Regions from separate parts of the Homo sapiens genome. Here region 2 is linked to region 1. The links are contacts of gene promoters, found by promoter capture Hi-C in human tissues and cell types (Jung and others, 2019). All regions are on one chromosome and are shown on one strand. The core of a region is centred on a gene start or on the middle of the fragment in contact, and the rest is flanking DNA. Distances in the headings are between cores, read along the strand shown. Region 1 holds the start of NFS1 (NFS1 cysteine desulfurase). Region 2 holds the start of C20orf173 (chromosome 20 open reading frame 173).

Region 1 (7,054 bases), core at 1,892-4,391:
ACCAGCAAATGTGGCCTTTAGTGGTTAATCTCATCTGTGCCAAAATTTAGTTGCTACCAGAGTGAAATTTGGTGTGTAAATAATGTTCAGAGGAAATGTGGTTGGAGTGTAGTAACTTGAATAGTGTCGTGCATAGAAAACAGCTCATTCTGAGTGAAACTGTTTATGTCCAATCAGTTCCTGAGTCAGCATCCCACTGGTTCGAAAATCTGTAACTAATCTGGTAATGTCCTTAATTTCCTCCTGCCTGTCAGTGTTCCAAAGTGTTCATCTAGTTTTCTTTTATCTTTATAATAATTACTACCATCTTTGAAAGTTCTGTTTAAGAAATGCTTAATGGGCAATGCGGGTTAGTAACTCCAGGGTCTGCGTGGCCTGGGCAGGTGAGATGGACAACTGCCTCATTACAGAAGCTTTTTATCATCAAACTAGTAAGTTTTGTGGAGGGCAAGCTATATAGATTGTTGATGAGTGGTTAGAAAATCATCTGGAATTTAGCCAGTTGAGAAGCTACAGAAGTTTCTATTTTTTTTTACAGTGGATGAACTGTTTTGCTTTTTCTGATAAAGCCACTAGGTATATCTAAATAACAACCTCGGGCTGGACGTGGTGCCTTATGCCTGTATATGTGAACACTGGGAGGCGGAGGCGGGTGGATCATGAGGTCAAGAGTTTGAGACCAGCCTGGCCAACACAGTGAAACCCCGTCTCTACTAAGAATACAAATTTTTTTTGTTTTGAGACAGAGTCTCGCTCTGTCGCCCAGGCTGGAGTGCAATGGCTCGATCTCAGCTCACTGCAACCTCCACCTTCTGGGTTCAAGCGATTCTCCTGCCTCAGCCTCCCGAGTAGCTGGGAATACAGGCGCGTGTCAACACACCCGGCTTAAGTTTTTGTATTTTTAGTAGAGACGGGGTGTCACCGTGTTACCCAAGATGGTCTCCATCTCCTGACCTTGTGATCCACCAGCCTTTGCCTCCCAAAGTGCTGGGATTACAGGCATAAGCCACCGCGCCCAGCCTAACAATACAAAATTTAGCTAGGCATGGTGGCACGTGCCTGTTATCACAGCTACTCGGGAGGCTGAGGCAGGAGAAACGCTTGAACACAGGAGGCAGAAGTTGCGGTAAGCCGAGATCGTGCCACTGCACTCCAACCTGGGCGACCAAGGAAACAACCAACCTCAGGATGAACATTGCTTTGGAAATAATGCAATGTGTGACCTTGAGGAAATTTCGGCTTATAAATCCATTTTTTGAAGTAGTTTTTCTCCTTTAAAATGGTGACCGTAGTAACAAGCACAGAGTTGTACTGAGTAATTAGTTGAATAGTATCTATGGAAAATACTAGACACTCCCAAGTTTTCCAATTTTGGATTAAGAGAGGCAGGCCTTGTGAAAGAGATACTAACCCTAGTCATTACGTTAGTCCATCTCTTTAGTGCAGAAGATCCTTGGCAAAGCTGGATAATAGGCTGAGAGAAGAATATTCCTTTAAGAGAGGGACACTGACTACTCAAAGACTTTCTTTTATTAGTACATGGGCTGGGATTGATGGGAAGGGACAGATGTAGTTGGCAACCATGGTTAGCATCGGATGCCCATCCCAATGGCCATGAATGTGCCAAAGGTGCCGCCACTCTGCATCATGGTTTTCCCAATGCCGCCCATCAGCTCTCGACCCCGCATTCCGATCCTGAGGAGGAAACCAAGATGGAGCTATTTGGTAACAAAAATATCAGAAAGAGTATTAACTGCTCCTTTCCAATTTTTTGCTAACACTAGTCTAGCAACCCCTACATCTGATTTTCCACTTACTGGATATTATATCTTACTACCTGGGGTGGGTAATGAGAAGGAAAAAGATCCATCTGGGTCTCCAGGGTATTTTTCTGGTGGATGTCGTATTAACTGCCTTCAGTTTGTGGGAGGCAGCAGATGCAGTGTAAAATACATAGAGAAACCAGCTTTTTTGACTGGTGTTGCCTGCAGTTTAAGACCCAATAAAGACATCTGTCTTTTAGTTTCTTGGTGTTAATGATTTTGGAGTAAGGTGGGGGTTCAAGAGTCAGCTCTACAATTTACACATAGTGTCAAGTGTAAAATGGGCATCTCAACATTATTTACAGGATTTTGAAAACTACAGTATTTAGCACAGTGCTTAACATAGAGTAAGTGCTCTGTAAATGATAATTTACAATCTAGGGATATGGCAATAACAGCCTCTAAATGTGAAAATGACCTTTAGAGTGTAAAGTTTAACTGCTTTATCTCTGTATCCTGTATCCAGAATAGTAAAACCGCTGAACGAGTTTCTTTCCTTATGCGCAATTGGAAAAAAAAATAAAAGCAACAGTAGTAACTAGTTACTGAGCACTTAATATGTGCCAGATGCTGTGCAAAGTGTGCTGATCGAATTTTTACAACTCTATAAGTTAGATGCTACTGTCTTCATTCTACACTTAAGGAAACCCAGTCTCCAACTTGCCTAAAGTCACCGAACCAGTAAGAAAAGGGCCAGAAAGCATTTTGACTCTAAAGCTCAAATTCTTAAGCACTGACGCTTCCAACCTGACTTTACAGATTGAAGGTGGTTTGGAATGAGTCTGGCTCGCGAGGGGACAGAGAGGGAAGTCGAAAGAAGGAGGCTGTGTTCAGGCTCCAGGCCGAATGGGGCAGGGCCGGAAGGTCTGGTTGTCCTGCCCAGAGATCACCGCCCGCGCCCCTCACCTGAGACAGGAAAAGGTGCCGAAGAGCGCCCCGGCCGCCATGCCCACGGCGCAACCCATCACGAAGCCCATTTTGACACGGTCGAAGCAGCTTGGCTGGGACTGTCCGTAGGGACCCACGGCCACCGGCATCTGCGGGGGATAGGAAAGTGTGGGCCCAGGCGCTGGCCCAAGAGTCGGGCGGGGACGGAAGCGGTAGGCTGGGAAGTGGGCCCAAGGGCTCAGGGGAAGTAAGGGAAGGAAAATCAGTGGGTAGCCCGACTCCACCACCCTCTTCGCGTTCCGGCCCCGCGTCGCCCGGCGCCTACCTCACCTCGCTCGCGGGCTGGGTCGCTCAGCTCTACGTCTCTCACGGAAAACGACGGGGAGGGCGCTCGCGGCCCGATGAATCGCTTCCGGAGCGCCGGGCAGCACTTCCGGGAGCCTGGGGCCCAGGACTGCAGCGGCTTCGGAAGGTGGGCTCTGCCAGCGGGACCATGCTGCTCCGAGCCGCTTGGAGGCGGGCGGCAGTGGCGGTGACAGCGGCTCCAGGGCCGAAGCCCGCGGCGCCCACTCGGGGGCTGCGCCTGCGCGGTACGCTCGGGTCCCGCTCTCCGGGAGGCGCGGACCTGTCCCCTCCGCGCGGCGACGCAACTGAATATTCCGGAGCCTTCCTGTCCACCCTGCTGCCCAGACCCTCTGACCCTTCTCTCAAATGACACATCCCTCAAACTTTCTTAGGCGGGTCCCCGAACGGTTGACCCCGGCGCACCACCCCTCGCACCCTGCGCGACAGGCCCCCAGAGCCGTGGAGGCGCGTCCTTCAGACCGCTCCTGGCCAAGTTACAGATGCTGCTCCGGGCTCCCGTGCAGACCGTTACCTTCGGTCAGAAGGGACTGCACCTACTCTGGCTCCACGTTCCTTCTAAACGTCTTTGCCCTTTAGAGCCTTCCTTCCTACGATACCATTTGAATATCAACTCAACACCCCCTCCAGGAACCCTCTCTCCCTCTCCCTTACCTCCTTTTACAGCGTGTCAGGTATCTGGTGTTGTTTTCTTTCCATTGAGATTCGACCCTAGCATCCCTTACACTTATCTCACCTCCAGCCAGATTTTTCCTTCTGCCCTTTGGATGCCATGCGTTCATAGTTGCCTTCGGTCTTACTTGGCTACTCCGTTCCATTTTTTATCAGTTGGAGACCGTGCTCCTCAGTCTGCGGTTCCCGCAGATACAGCCGCTGCCCCGGAGGTGGGGCCAGTGCTGCGACCTCTCTATATGGATGTGCAAGCTACAACTCCTCTGGTAAGGATGAAGCTTTTCCCAAGGCTGCTTATAGGAAGTAAATGATGGGCGTGATCACGCAAAGAAATGGCTGAATCCCTGGAGAAGTGAGAGCCGTGAAGGTGTGCTGGAAAAAGCACTGAGCGAGGAGTCGGGAGGCTTAAATTCGAGGCCACTGGCATTGGCTTTACTACTCACTAGCAATTGACCTTGGTCAGATCACTTCAGCGCAGGCTCTATAGTATTAGTTAAAAGCATGGGCTCTGGAATGAGCAGAACGGCCACTTAGTAACTGTGTGAACTTGGACAAGTATTAAACGGGTTAAAAGACTAATGCAAGTTTTCACCAATGTGTGACCAGGGGTGTTTGCCTAGGCCCTGTCCTGTCCCAGCCCCTTATAGATCACATTACCTGGCAGGAATGGAAACACCAGCAGAAACAGATGTCGGAACAAGGCAGTGTTTGTAGACTACCTGAGGGGAGGCAGAACAATCCGAGTTGGGATGGGTTGTGAGTGGGAGTGTATTAGGTTGATATTTGGTGGGTAGTTTTGTGGGAACAAAAGAATGTTTGAGGCCTCCTCTAGGCAGTGCCTGAGGGGTTGAGAGTGTCTTAAGGCAGGGTGGCCAGGTCTGAGGGGTGGAGTGGGACCTGAATTGACGATGCGCTCAAGGAAAATGATCTGTTCTGTTGTGTTCAGGACCCCCGGGTGCTTGATGCCATGCTCCCTTACCTAATCAACTACTATGGGAACCCACACTCCCGGACACATGCTTATGGCTGGGAGAGTGAGGCAGCCATGGAACGTGCTCGTCAGGTTAGTACACAGGAGTCTAGGAGGTTCTAAGGTCAAAGAGGGGCAGTGGCCTGTGGGAGGCATTTCTTTCTTGGTAGGTGTGCATGGAGGTAGAAATGGTTTTGGATTCTTTCTGGAAGAGATTCAAAGAGCAGCCTTGGAGTTTGACTGCAGGCATTTGATTGGTTCCCATATTTCCTGGCTAAATGACTTGGGCAAGTTATCTAATTTCTTTGAGCCTTATTTTCCTCATTTAAAACAGAGATTGTGGTAGTTTCTACTCTGTAGGGTTACTGGGTGGATTAAATAAGACAATGCTGATAAAGTGTTTATTACCACAACATCTGTAAGTAAGAAGTACTATAAATAGTAAGAGCTCAATAGTTCTTTTTTTTTTTTTTTATGAGATGGAGTTTTCACATTTGTTGCCCAGACTGGAGTGCAGTGGCGCACGATCTTGGCTCACTGCAACCTCTGCCTCCCGGGTTCAAGTGATTCTGCTGCCTCAGCCTCCCAAGTAATTGGGATTACAGGCACACGCCACCATGCCTAGCTAATATTTTTGTATTTTTATTTATTTATTTATTTACTATTATTTGAGACAGAGTTTTGCTCTTGTTACCCAGGCTGCAGTGCAGTGGCACGATCTCGGCTCACTGCAACCTCTGCCTCCCGGGTTCAAGCAGTTCTCCTACCTCAGCCTCCCAAGTAGCTGGGATTACAGGCATGCGCCACCACACCCGGGTAAATTTGTATTTTTAGTAGAGACGGGGTTTCTCCATGTTGGTCAGGCTGGTCTTGAATTCCCGACCTCAGGTGATCCACCTGCCTCAGCCTCCCAAAGTGCTGGGATTACAGGCTTGAGCCACCATGCCCGGCCTAATATTTTTGTATTCTTAGTAGAAATGGAGTTTCACCATGTTGGCCAGGTTGGTCTCGAACTCCTGACCTCAGGTGATCTTTCCACCTCGGCCTCCCAAAGTGCTGGGGTTACAGGAGTGACCCACCACACCTGGCCAATAGTTCATTAAAAAAAAAAAGTTATTATTTTGCATTGGGCTGGAAAAGAGCCTGGGATCTGGGATATAACTAGAATCTGATTCTTGTAGGTGCAGACCTTCATCCAGGGCAATTTGGTGGAATGCAGTGGAGCTCTTCTTGCTCCAGGGCTGTCCCACCTGTGTCTGCAGCTCTATTTCTGCCTGGGGAACTGATGTTATATATCTCTGTTTCTTGGCTTGCAGCAAGTAGCATCTCTGATTGGAGCTGATCCTCGTGAGATCATTTTTACTAGTGGTGCTACTGAATCCAACAACATAGCAATTAAGGTAAGAGAAGGGAACCAGAGGGTGTATGTGGGCTTTCCTGACCTAGGAGATAGTGTCCCTCCATCATTTGGACTCGTATATGTATTTCGCAGCCATCCATCCCCACCCCATTGTGAAGAGAAGGCTTGCAGTCTTTCTGATTTGTTGCTTCCTTTAACCCTTTGCAGTCTACTCTTTCTTAAGTCTTTGCTGCTGTTGGTCTGAGTTGAGTGAGGCAGTTGGATAGCAAAGGAGGTGGCCCTCAGGCCATTAACCACTTGTTTTTTTTTTGTCTGGCAGTTACTTCAGAGAGTGGATAATGGTGATTGAACCTTTTCTCCATTCTTCTTTTTTTTTTTGATACATAGTCTCACTCTGTCGCCAGGCTGGAGTGCAGTGGCGCAATCTCAGCTCACTGCAAACTCCACCTCCCAGGTTCAAGTGATTCTCCTGCCTCAGCCTCCAGAGTAGCTGGGAGTACAGGTGCCCGCCACCATGCCCAACTAATTTTTATATTTTTAGTAGAGATGGGGTTTCACCATATTGGCCAGGATGATCTCAATCTCTTGACCTGATGATCCTCCCATCTCGACCTCCCAAAGTGCTGGGATTACAGGTGTGAGCCACCGTACCCGGCCTTTCTCCATTCTTTTTATCTAGTAACAACAAGTTATATATGTGATTTCAGGGCTGTCCTCCTCTCAGCCTTCCTTTTTCTTTCTGATCAGATCTATTTGCAACAAGTTCCTCCTGTTTCTTTAGATATCTCCATTTTGAAGTGCTTGTCTTTGTGGTGCCCTCTGCAGGCATTCACATGGTCACCCATTCTGGGATCAGTCATTTTGTCCTGGGTACATAGAAGATCTTTGGTGCTAATGCAAGGAAAAGGTACTTTTAGTAGTCACGTTGGTGTTTCATAGAACATAGTCAGATTTCACTGGGCCTGGTTGCCAGGATTA
Region 2 (7,054 bases), core at 1,593-4,092, 170 kb after region 1:
GGATTACAGGCACGAGCCACTGTGCCTGGCCTTCATTTTCTCTTAATGGTAGTGTCTTACCATATAATACATATAGTAATTTTTCTTTTTCTTTTTTTGAGACAGAGTTTCACTCTTTTTGCCCAGCTAAAATCACATTCAGTGGTGCGATCTCGGCTCACCGCAACCTCCGCCTCCCGGGTTCAAGCAATTTTCCTGCCTCAGCCTCCCGAGTAGCTGGAATTACAGGCATGCGCCACCATGCTTGGCTAATTTTGTATTTTTAATAGAGACAGGGTTTCTCCATGTTGGTCAGGCTGGTCTCGAACTCCTGACCTCAGGTGATCTGCCCACCTTGCCTCCCAAAATGCTGGGATTACAGGCGTGGGCCACCGCGCCCAGCCCATATGGTACTTTTTCAAAACCTGGAACTTGACGTTGGTATGATATAATTAACTAGCCTACACACCTTACTCAGATATTTGGGTGAATTGATTTAAAAGCTATACAATATCCAGTGCAGCTTTCCACTAGTTAAGATGAAGAATTTTACTGTTCTTATCCCATTGAATAAAATGTTTTGATTTTTTTTAAAAACCAAAATGTTCTGTTTTTTTCTTAAACTTTAAAAACAACTCAAACATTTTCATTTTTTTACTATCTTTACAAGACTACAATTGAATTAAGGGGGTGGCAGTGGAGATGAAGAAGATGACTTAGAAATAGAAACGAATTAAAAAATGGATTTGAGGCCAGACTCAGTGGCTTATGCCTGTAATCTCAGCACTTTGAAAGGCCGAGGAGGGTGGATCACTTGAGCTGAGTTCGAGACAGGGCTGGCACAGTAAACCCCATCTCTACTTAAAAAAAAAAATCAGCAAGGCTCGGTGGCTCACGCCTGTAATTCCAGCACTTTGGGAGGCCGAGGTGGGCGGATTGCTTGAGACCAGGAGATGGAGACCAGCCTAGCCAACACAGTGAAACCCCGTTTCTACCAAAAAAATACAAAAATGAGCCAGGTGTGGTGTTGTGCGCCTGTAGTCCCAGCTACCTGGGAGGCTAAGGCATGAGAATCACTTGAACCTGGGAGGTAGAGGTTGCAGTGAGCCAAGATTGTGCCACTGCACTCCAGCCTGGGCGACAGAGTGAGACTCTGTTTCAAAAATAAATTAAATAAATAAATAAGCCTAGCGTGGTGGCACACTTCTGTAGTCCCAGCATCTTGGCAAGCTGAGGTGAAAGGATTGCTTGAACCTTGGAGGCAGAGGCTACAGTGGGCTAAGATTGTGCCACTGCACTCCTGCCTGGGTGACAGAGTGAGACTTTGTCCTAAAAAAAAAAAAAAAAAAAGAATTTGGGTATCATAGGAGTAGGAGGAATTAATAACACATGAGTTCTGGTTTCAATAACTGGGTACGTGGTGGAACCATTTGTTGAGATAGAGAAGTTTTGAAGCTGGGTGCAGTGGCTCACGCCTGTAATCCCAGTACTTTGGGAGGCCGAGGTGGGCAGATTACCTGAGGTCAGGAGTTTGAGATCAGCCTGGCCAACATGGTGGAATCCCGTTTGTACCAAAAATACAAAAAATTAGCCGGGCTTGGTGGCACGCACCTGTAATCCCAGCTATTCGGGAGGCAGAGGCAGGAGAATTGCTTGAACCCCGGAGGAGGCAGAAGTTGCAGTGAGCTGAGATTGCGCCACTGCACTCCAGCCTGGGTGACAGAGCAAGACTCTGTCTCAAACAAAACAAAAGAGACAGAGAAGTTTTGGGAAGGGTTGGTTTACAGGGAAAATCCTGGGTTCAGTCTCAGGCTTATTCAGGTGAGATGTCTCTGAGCCATCTAAGTGGCAATTCAGTAGGCTGTTGGATATGGGGTCTAGAGACTACAAGAGAGGATTGAGTTGATGTCACACAACTCCAGAGAGGGCATCACACACAAGTATATTTAAAGTTCCAGGCTGGGGCGGGGTGCAGTGGCTCATGCCTGTAATCCCAACACTTTGGGAGGCCAAGGCGGGCGGATCACCTGAGGTCAGAAGTTCGAGATCAGTCTGACCAACATGGGGAAACCCCGTCTCTACTAAAAATACAAAAAAATTAGCCAGGCGTGGTGGCGGGCACCTGTAATCCCAGCTACTTGGGAAACCGAGGCAAGAGAATCACTTAAACCCGGGAGGTAGAGGGTGCAGTGAGCCGAGATCGTGCCTCTGCACTCCAGCTGGGGCGACAAGAGTGAAACTCCGTCTCAAAATAATAATAATAATAATAATAATAATAATAATAATAATAATAATTTAAAAATAAAGTTCCCGGCTGGGCATGGTGGTTCACGCCTGTAATTCCAGCACTTTGGGAGGCTGAGGTGGGCGGATCACTTGAGGTCAGGAGTTTGAGACCAGCCTGGCCAATATGGCGAAACCCTGTCTCCACTAAAAATATAAAAATTAGCCAGGCGTGGTGGCGCATGCCTGTAGTCCCAGCTACTTGGGAGGCTGAGGCATGAGAATCGCTTGAACCAGGCAGGCGGAAGTTGCAGTGAGCCAAGATCATGCCACTGCACTCCAGCCTGGACAACAGAGCAAAAACTCCATCTCAAAAAAAAAAAAAAAAGTTCCCTCTCAACCCCTGTTTATTTATCCCATAAATATTTATTAAATGATTCTAAGTCTTAGAGCTGCAGAGGTGAAGAAGAGAGACTAGGTCAGCCCCTGTCCTCATGAATCTTACATCCAGTGGAGGTCATTTCGGTGTCAGAGAAAGGGTAGGGTGGTGGCTTTTTTCAGGCAGGCTAAAGGAGGGAGGTCACAATGTGTACTTTGTGATGAGATCTATGATATAACTGGGATGACAGCAAGGCCCCCACTGAGGTATTCCTTCCCCTCTCAGGACTAGCCACATGCTGTCTCTCTGCCCTGGCCTCTTCCACCCCATGCCCAGTCAGAGACCGTTTTGAGGGTGAGCAAATGGATAGTGAGGCAGGAGAGGAGGGGTTGGAAGGAGGTGGAAGGTGGTGGGATGGGGAGTTGTGGAGGCCGACAGGACAGAGGGAAGCTGGTGCTGTCTGTGGCCTCAGCCCCTCATCCTTACAGGTAGAGAAGCCAGTCTACGGCCCACCACGGGAGCCACCGCCTGGGCCAGACATGAAGCGCTGGCAGATTTTTGTCCTGTGGGTCTTTTGGGTGCTCATCCTCTGGCTGATGACCCCCTATCTGGATCTGACACCTGAATCAGCACCCCAGGAAAAACGAATGTACTTGGTACCACAGCATTGCGACTGCCCTTGGTTCAGTTCCGGGAAGTGTGGCTGCCCTTCTGAGACCCTCAACTGCTCCTCCTGCCACCACACAGCCGACGAATGGAACTGGCTTGATGCGTGCTCCAGGAAGACTATGGGGTACCTGATGAGGACAAGAGAGTCTATGACCTCTGACACTGTGCTCTGGTGGTTGGTCAGTGGTCAACACTGGGCCCGGCCATATCCCCCATGCTTTCCGGGCCTCACCCATCTCCCACTTTCCGCCCAAATCCCTGCCCTTGGCCCTGTCTTCACAGCCTCTGGATGGAGATCTCACCCACCCAGCTCTGTTTTCTCTCCCCTGGGCCCAGCCCCCAATCTCCCTCTTGCTGTTTCCAGGGCATGAACTCAGGGAGCGAGCTTGGGAAATTGTGGAGGAAGCTGTTTAAAGGGATTCCCAGGCTCTCGGTGAGCCATTTTGATTTCTATTGTGGGACTTGTGTGCTGTTGGGGCGCCCACAGATCCCGCAGGGCTCCAGCCTTGGCAACGACATCGACCAATACCCCGTGGTTTTCAGGTGGGTGCTGGGGAGAGGGCGGGAGCAGGAAGGCCAGGCCTGCCCCACAGTTCCATCAGTTTCTGCTCCCCTTCCCAAGATGAAGCAGGCCCCAAGTCCAGGGCTTTGAGATGGACGTGGGGAACCAAACCACACACAATGCTTCATCTATCCCAGGAATGCCAGCGACCAGGGCTCCTGGATGCAGCTGGAGATGCTACTGCGGAAGCTCTCTGACCTGGTGTGGACTTCAGATGCTCTAAGTGATAAGGTGATGGAGGTGTCCCCAGACATTCTCTGTGTGGGGGTGAGGGGAGGTCACTGCAGGGAGTAACAGCAGGGGCTCTGGGAAGACCTTCTATTGGCTTACTGGGGACACTTGCAGGACTTTCCCAGGTCTTGTGGCCCAAACTCCCCCACCTCCAATTCTTTCTCAGATTTTGGAAGATGGTCTGGTTCCCTAGTGGAGTGGAAGATAGCAAAGACACGGTGAGGGGGAATAGGAAAAGGGGTAGGATGTGGCTGTGGGTTGCTGTGGGAAGGGCCCCAGGTCAGTTCCCTCCCCCTTCCTCCCCAGGTGCAACCAGGACAACTGGCTGTCTTACCAGGGTCAGGGTCATCCCTGGGGCCCAAGGCTTTGTTCTGTGTCTTGCACAACTGTGCCCCGGCAGGAAAGATTCTTGTATCTTCTTCTCTTAAAATTCCTGCTCCTCAATGCCTTCAGCATGGAGTCTAAAGTTTTCTGCCTGGCTTTCAAGACTCTACATGTAGGCCAAGCGTGGTGGCTCATGCCTGTATCCCAACACTTTGGGAGGCTGAGGCGGGTGGATCATGAGGTCAGGAGTTCGAGACCAGCCTGGCCAATATGGTCAAACTCCATCTCTACTAAAAATACAAAAAATAGCCAGGCATGGTGGTAGCCTCATCTCTACTAAAAATGCAAAAAATAGCCAGGCATGCCTGTAGTCCCAGCTACTCGGGAGGCTGAGGTAGAAGAATCGCTTGAACCCGGGAGGCAGAGGTTGCAGTTAGCCGAGATTGCGCCACTGCACTCCAGCCTGGTGACAGAGCGAGACTCCATCTCAGAAAAAAAAAAGACTATACATGTTCTGACTCCTCCCCTTGCCTCCTGTCTCCCAGGCTCCCATAATGGGCTCTTAGAATTCCCCAGACACATGAGCTGCCTCATGCCTTCTCTCGCACCATTCCGTTTGCCTGGAATGCCCTTCTCTTACGTCCTGGGGGTTCCCCTCTCTTCCTCCAATACCATGAGGAAAAGTGAGTTGACATTCTCTTTTTTGGGATCCTCAGTGACTCTAGGAGAGTGTCCAGAGTCTGTTTCCTGGAGGTGAGCTCCAGTCTCCTCCCAGCTCCCAGGGACAACCTGTCATCCTAGATGCTGAGTGAAGGGAGGCAGGGGTGAGGACAGGAGTCTGCCTGCTGACGCACATGTCCCTCTCTTATCCACTAGGTCACCCTCTTTGGATTTGGATCAGAATAGCAAGGAAAGTGTTTCTATCACTGGAAGGAGGATAATCAGACCAAGGGCTCCAAGGAAATACTGCCCACGTCTAGTGCAGGAGCAGAAATCGAAGTCATCCATCAGCTAGCGTGTGGACAAGCTCACTATTCACACAAGCTCAGCCTAGCTGAGTCCATACAAATCCTATTTCTGGGTGGGTAAAGGGCAGGAGGAAATTGTAAGATCAGTCTGGTACTGAATAAAATCCTGGCCTGATTGTCTTACCTGTAACCACAGTGTCTGGGAGGGATGGGCCAGAGGTGCCTTCCAGATCTCAGGGGCAATATTTGAGTTGATTTCTTTGCCTAGTGCCCTGGATCATGTAGGAGGTATAAGTTTAGATTCAATTTCATGCCAAGTGCAAACCCAGACTTTGAGTTGTTGGGGGAGGCTCTTTACCCACTTCGATAAAAGAAGTAAACCTCCTTGTTTCACCCATGCCGGAGGGTGAGGGTTGTTTTTTGTTTTTTGTTTTTTTGCCCAGCTTTTCACAGAAGGTTTAGCATTTTGAGGTTCCCAGTTTTTTTAGGTGCCTCAGTTCCAATTCGCTTTTTTTTTTTTTTTTTTTTTTGAGACAAGAGTTTGCTGTGTTGCCCAGGCTGGAATGGAGTGGCACAATCATGGCTTATTGCAGCCTCGACCTCCTGGGCTCAAGTGATCCTCCCACCTAAGCCCCCTGAGTAGCTGGGACTATAAATGCATGTCACCACACCCAGTTAATTTTAATTTTTGTTTTTGTAGAAAGGGGGTCTTGCCATGTTGGCCAGGATGGCCTTGAACTCCTAGGCTCAAGCAATCCTACTGCCTTGGCCTCCCAAAGTGCTGGGATTACAGGTGTGAGTCACTGTGCCTAGCACTTACCGTGTCACTTCTGCAGCATTCCATTGGTCAGATCAAGTCATAAAGTGATCCAAGATCCAAGAAGTGGGGAAATGAACTGCTCTTCCTAATGGAAAGAGCTGAAGAGAATCTGCCATAATGAGACTACCACAGTGTCAAGGGCCCAGTTGTGTTGGCAGCAGTGGTGGCATTCCAGGTGGGCCATTCCTGGGGTAGTCTTTGGCCATGTTTTGCATCTCATGATAGACTGAGCCTGGTTCTCTAGCTTTTGCATCATCCTGTAAACTACTAAATATTTAGCCGGCGAATTGTTTTTCTCTGAAGTTTACCAGTCTGTTGACCAAGACCAAGAATCCAACTGCTACAGTTAACAAAGAATAAAAAATCAGACTTTTGGCTGGGCACAGTGGCTCAGACCCAGCATGTTGTGAGGCTGAGGCAGGAGGACTGCTTGTGCCTGGAAAATTTCTGCATAATTCACCCCTTAATTTGCATGTAGTTAAAAGTGGGTATAAATAGGATTGCAGAGCTGCTGCTGAGCTGCTAACTCTGGGCACACTGCCTATGGGGTAGCCCTGTCCACAAGAAGCAGTGTACCTCTGCTGCTGCTGTGCAATGCTGCTTCAATACAGTTTGCTAACACCACTGGATCGCATCAGGGCAAAGCCAAGAACCCTCTCAGGCTAAGCCCCAATTTTGGGGATTGCCTGCCCTGCATCAGAGGCATCACTCCAGTCTCTACCTCCAACTTCACATGGCATACTCCCCTGTGTCTTCTGTTTCCAAATTTCCCTCATCTTTTTTTTTGAGATGGAGTCTTGCTCTTGTCACCCAGGCTGGAGTGCAGTGGCATGATCTCAGCTCACTGCAACCTCTGCCTCCCAGGTTCAAGCAATTCTCCTGCCTCAGCCTCTCGAGTA

The links. The method cuts DNA at HindIII sites, captures the fragments that hold promoters and counts their contacts. A contact is called where the count stands out against the background at its distance.
Region 2: the fragment with the promoter of C20orf173 here is called in contact with the fragment with the promoter of NFS1 in region 1 in 4 of the 25 tissues and cell types used here (adrenal gland, mesenchymal stem cells, pancreas and 1 more).

What each region holds. Positions count from the first base shown.
Region 1 is chr20:35,695,439-35,702,492 of GRCh38, reverse strand. It overlaps NFS1 (NFS1 cysteine desulfurase), which reads left to right and starts at 3,141. Exons shown (of 13, transcript NM_021100.5): 1 at 3,141-3,301; 2 at 3,903-4,012; 3 at 4,693-4,809; 4 at 6,033-6,116. The coding sequence starts at 3,205. ROMO1 (reactive oxygen species modulator 1) reads right to left here and starts at 3,088. Exons shown (of 3, transcript NM_080748.3): 1 at 3,037-3,088; 2 at 2,730-2,860; 3 at 1,513-1,695. The coding sequence starts at 2,860. The coding sequence ends at 1,587. It overlaps RBM39 (RNA binding motif protein 39), which reads left to right. Exons shown (of 17, transcript NM_184234.3): 17 at 1-1,146. RefSeq lists enhancers at 2,464-2,683, 2,255-2,914, 2,915-3,574 and a silencer at 3,174-3,363. The HindIII fragment of the contact is 14,345 bases long and covers 1-7,054 here.
Region 2 is chr20:35,525,440-35,532,493 of GRCh38, reverse strand. C20orf173 (chromosome 20 open reading frame 173) reads left to right here and starts at 2,842. Exons shown (of 6, transcript NM_001145350.2): 1 at 2,842-2,935; 2 at 3,070-3,429; 3 at 3,615-3,793; 4 at 3,950-4,043; 5 at 4,210-4,261; 6 at 5,244-5,515. The coding sequence starts at 3,121. The coding sequence ends at 4,236. The HindIII fragment of the contact is 31,043 bases long and covers 1-7,054 here.